Linked DNA regions of Homo sapiens: region 1 is linked to region 2. The links are contacts of gene promoters, found by promoter capture Hi-C in human tissues and cell types (Jung and others, 2019). All regions are on one chromosome and are shown on one strand. The core of a region is centred on a gene start or on the middle of the fragment in contact, and the rest is flanking DNA. Distances in the headings are between cores, read along the strand shown.

The links. Contacts are between HindIII fragments. The study calls those that stand out against the background at their distance.
Region 1: a fragment that was not itself captured here is called in contact with the fragment with the promoter of FABP2 in region 2 in 2 of the 25 tissues and cell types used here (H1 embryonic stem cells and dorsolateral prefrontal cortex).

Annotation. Positions count from the first base shown.
Region 1 is chr4:119,472,931-119,475,630 of GRCh38, forward strand. It overlaps the pseudogene SEPTIN7P14. Among named protein-coding and RNA genes, the nearest start is that of LINC01061, 64 kb to the left of the region's middle. The HindIII fragment of the contact is 3,030 bases long and covers 1-2,700 here.
Region 2 is chr4:119,320,870-119,323,569 of GRCh38, forward strand. It overlaps FABP2 (fatty acid binding protein 2), which reads right to left and starts at 1,269. Exons shown (of 4, transcript NM_000134.4): 1 at 1,167-1,269. The coding sequence starts at 1,233. The HindIII fragment of the contact is 4,027 bases long and covers 646-2,700 here.

The DNA of each region.
Region 1 (2,700 bases), core at 93-2,592, 150 kb after region 2:
ACACCATGCCTAACTAATTTTTGTATTTGTAGTACAGACGGGATTTTGCCATGTTGGCCAGGCTGGTCTTGAACTTGCAACCTCAGGTGATCTGCCCACTTCGGCCTCCCAAAGTGCTGGGATCACAGGTGTGAGCCACTGTGCCTGGCCAAGATAAACATACCTTAAGAAAATTTTTAAAAATAATTATTAATATAAAAAACCATGATGAACAAGATACCAAAAATTTAAATACAAGATTGTGCAGGAAATACTTATGGAGTTCAGTGACTATCTTGAAATGTAGTACATACAACCATCATCACTGTTCCTTCACAGTACATTTATTTTTCCACTGAAATAATCCTCACAAAATTCTCTCAATTACCATAATCTTACATATCTATGTTGTGGGTATTAGAACTTAATATCAGTCACCATCCTTGAAATTTAGGCTCTCTGGTCCAACGTTTCACTTTGAAATGTATTTTGTATATTGTTGTATCAGTCAAAATTTCCAATTTAAATTATAGTTATCCATCCATCCATCCATCCATCCATCCATCTGTCCATTTATTTATTGGGTTTGTGTATGAAGGAGAAAAAATAGAATCTTCAAATGCTAATGATTAATCCATTTTAACGACTATAAAATGGAAATGTGTACAGTTACAAAGGCATACTAAGTTGGTCTGCCTCATCAAATAGGCCTGGGCAAAAATTGGTAGGTAAAATTAAAGGGAATCACAGTGCATTTTACTCTCATGATCTCTGTTAGAAATGTCCCACTAAACATGTTACGTTACCAACTCTTCTATTATGCCCTCATCTCTACCTCTATAGATTTAGCCTTTGTGAGCTATTCTGAAACAGCTTATTCCACAGCTTCTGGTCAATTTTTAGACAATGTAAATAGAGATCCACCTTCAGATATAGACTGGTGAGTCTGGTCTTGTTCAGAGAACAATTAAGGACCTTCAAGCTAGTGAATTGTCAATTCCTTTGTAAAAAGTGTTTTATTAACCTTCAGCTACCTTGGAGGTAGTTGTTGACAGAGCATTATATTAAAACTTGTATTAAAGAATACAGATATGCATTGTATTAGAGGCTTTAGGACTTTTTTCAAAACGAACCTTGAAAAACTTCTTCAATTTTTTTTTTTTAAAAGCTGTTCTATTAAAGGGATAATATAGTGAATAAATATTTGTTGTCTGTTTAACTTACCTTATGTAGAGCTATTGGCTCTAAGGATTTTGAAAGGACAACAATAATTCTCTAAAAATAATTCAGGCACCTTTGGCCATTTGTGTAACCAGGTACAAATTACCACGTTTCCCAGTTTCCCCCTTGAGTCCAACTGTAATGTATTGTTCTGTAAAGTATAGTCCAGTTGTCAGCTCTGTTTGCCTTGGTCAATTGAATGATCCTCCTCCTTAAGCTTAGCCTATAGTGCATTTGGCTTAATAAATGAAACTGTAACATGCCAGCCACACAATAGAGGATTTTATAGAACTGTTTCTGCTTGGAATACTATAATTGGAATTTGAGTTAACTATAATTAAAAAAGCTTTCATAGCCCATGGTATATGAACTCTGAAACCCCAAATACCAAAATCCTACTATATAAAAATGATCCACATACTAAAAAAAAAAAAAAAAAACCAGACACACAAATCGAGTTTAATTTCGTATCATGCTATTTTCCTAAAATATAGTTTCTAAAGTTATTGCAAATTAGTTCCTGCTGCTTGGTAAAATACCATATTTAAACTTAATTACAACTGCCTTCCTGCAATGAAGGGCCAACTTTTTCAAATAATGTGTTACAGCCCAGTGACTCTAGGGAGTCTATGGTCCCATTGCTGCAAATGAGCAGATCGGTGAAAACAAAAACATATTAAGAAGTCCACATTTCTAACAAACACCTTGCAAAGAATAAAATGGTAATTTAAGGAATATGTCCACTTAATATACATTTCATGTATATAGGACACATAATACAATAAATACCCTTTTTACTACCCCCAATTTAAGAAGTAGACTAGTATAATAGAAGGCATATCTCCTTGGTACTCAGTATTTCTAAAAGGCAGTAATGGCTGTCTCCTCTAAGCACCTGAGATGATATGCCTCTGTGCACTCTAGCCTTAGAAATATGCTTATCTCCTGCAGGCAGAGCATGCTGGAAGTGCCAGGGAGTTAAGGTTACCAGGAACAGCCCTCAACTAATAATGAGGAAAAGCTTGTGGATAAATATCCAAGCCCCCTGCCTTCAGGTAGGAACACTGATATTTTATTAGATTGGTGCAAAAATAATTGCGGTTATATAGTCTCAAAGAGGAAACAGTCTCCACGTGAAATCGAGCCCCAGTTGTCCACAGTAATAACCCGCTTATTAACTTAGCCTATATGGATTTACTTTCTTCTCATCTGTCTTCTCTGCTTTCGCAGGGAAATAAGTAGTTCACTAGTGTTTCCTGTGATAACCTCCTGAATAAACTACTTATGCTCAAATCCTTATGTTGGGGTTTTCTTCTGGAGGAATTGCCAAACTGTTGAAGTTCCCTGTGTTCATCCCCAATCTCAGCTCTGTCCGTCTCCCCACCAAGAGTTACTGTTTTGATTTTTTGTGTTTCTTGTTCCTTTCCTGTTTGTAATAATTATACTAATATATTAAAAATATTAGTAACTACACTGGTTTGCTATAATAAGGTATATCTT
Region 2 (2,700 bases), core at 19-2,518:
TAAAGTCAAATCCCATAGGAAGTGTTTATTTTTCCAAGTTATGTTTTGTTTGTTTATTTTGAGGGTGGGAAGAAAACTCGGTAGCATTGCCTTTGCACAAGAACATTCAGATTGCTTCTACAGAAGTTCAGGTTCAATCAGATCAAGAGAACTGATTAAAGTTGTTTTTCCATAACTTGAGAAAAATTAAGTAGAGTACAGAATTATAGAATCTTAGAGCTGAGCAACCTTAATAAGATTAACAAACTGTTCATTTCAGTGTTAAGTAAATCAAATTCTAGAAATATCAAATGAAGGATTAAAATGTATATTCATATATTTATAAGGAAGCACATCTTTAATTCCACATATACAGTATTCTTTTTTCTTAAATGCCCCTTTGTTTTTCTTAGTGGCTTTAACATTTTGAACTTTATAGTTCTATTTGCTTCTTGTGGCATTTCTTTCTGACACAAAAATGAGAAAATTAGCAAATATTAAGCCAAAATCACTATAAGAATCTACAACTTTTATAAATTTAAACTTAGAGTTCCTAAACTGTAAGCTATAATTGATGCAGATTTTTCTTTTAGGGGAATGACACAAATTTGTTTGCCTATCTTGTATAGTATATGGGCTGCCAGAGTATTGGTATCAAATTATAAATCAGTTAAATTAAACGCCCTGGAGAAAACTACACAGCTTCTCAAGATTATTCCAAAACTTTTTTAAGTTAGAAGAAATCAGAATTAAATCTAACTTATTCAGCGCTATAAATTTTAAGAGAACCTTTTCCATTACTTTCTTATATGGTCTTTGTTTTTCCATCTCCTAGAATTTAACATTTTCAGATCTGGAAGTTATCATTACACGCTGCCATTTTCTTACTGTAAACAACAAAAAAAGTCATTTTTCAGTTAAAGAGGGAAGGAAACATTTCTGGATCTTTTTGGTGTGTTTCAGAGAACAGCACTCAAAGAATCTTTTCTTCCATTAGTGAGATAGTGGATTCTTCCTAATGTAAGAAGGGAGAATATGGTTTCCCTCCTCTGAACATCTTCTGGATCCTCTCTACCACATCAGGAGCTATCTGTAAGCTATCTGTAATCTCCTAGAGATTTAGGAGTTAGAAAGAAAAATGTTTGTAAGAAAGCAAAGAATGAGCCACAAAGAAATAAAGTCTTTACCCATTTTTTCCATGAACTTGTCATAGTTTTCACTCCGGTCTACCTTCCAAGTGCTGTCAAACGCCATGATTTCAGTTGAGTCAGCCTCTAGGCAGCTAGAGATTCAGGTCTGTCCTTGGGCGAGAATTTATTATATTTCTTATCTTAGAACCAACTTCATACTGTGATGTGGAAGCTTAAAGTTCAGGAAATCACCTAACTATGTCAAGCAATTAATTAATTCTTATTAATTAATTCTTAATTCTCGTTCTGTACATTCCTGAGATCTTCTGAAATTCAACTGAATTAAAACATGAGAAGCATACCTATTCTGTCTTAAATTACAGTTTGTGGGCATACTTATTTCAAGAATTAGAATGCATGCCGTCTGAAGATTGTTTTTCTAAGTTCAAAGTGCAGACTATGTTGGAGGTAATATAATTTATAGCATATATCAAATAACATCTGGGAAATGAGACCATGACCTTTCCCTTTTTCACAACAGCAATTATCTTGTAAAGTAAGACTTTATGATGAAATACAGTTGAAAAGTTAAAGTTAATAAGATTCGTTTTCTAATATGTCTTTTTGCATTGTGTTTAGCATTGCCAGGAGTTTGGATAAATATCCTGGCACTTTGTAGGGTGCATGACACACAATAAGTGCTCATTGATTTTTGTCTTGATCCTGAATGGTGATAGGCCACTGAGCAAAAATTCAAGAGGTACAAATGAGGCTGGATGGTGTAAAAACTTGCATAAAAGAAAGAATGAGCTTTAAACATCTGCCATGTGCAGAGAGAACAAAATCCAGTTTTAGCTGTGCCATTAATTAAAACCACTCCTTCATTTTACTCTCAATGCCTCTCATCCCCAAACCCAGTAGAGTCAGAAGCCACAGCTCAATTATGTATGTAGGGTCAGGGTATAGAGGGTAGCTAGAAAGGTACAAAGAAAAGGTCACCATATCTCTCCTTTCCCTACTTCAGGCTGCCAGCCAGGAACAGGCCAAGCTTGGGGAGGAAACTTGGTGTGAAGTAAAGAGTTTTAATTACTAGTCTTAAGATGTTTATTACTAAAATGAGTCTATTATTGTGACTGAATGTGACCAGATAACATCTTATTAACTAAGGGTCAGGAAAGAAGCTCTAGGGCTTGCCCAAGATATTACTTAGGGTCAAGGGAAGATAAATCTAACAGATTTGAACAGAACTTTGGGGAACAGAATCCCAGTTTTTAAATTTTGATATTATTTTATATTTTGATTTTTAAAAATCTTTTAAACATGTTAGATATTGTTTGATTTTTTATTTCGAGTTGCCCACTTTTTATTTTATTAAGTAAGCACTTTAAAAAGCAAACTATTTTCTACTAGCTCTATTATTTCATTAAAAAAGAAAAAGAGGCCGGGCGCGGTGGCTCGCGCCTGTAATCCCAGCACTTTGGGAGGCCGAGGCGGGCGGATCACGAGGTCAGGAGATCGAGACCATCCTGGCTAACACGGTGAAACCCCGTCTCTACTAAAAATGCAAAAAAAATTAGCCGGGCGTGGTGGT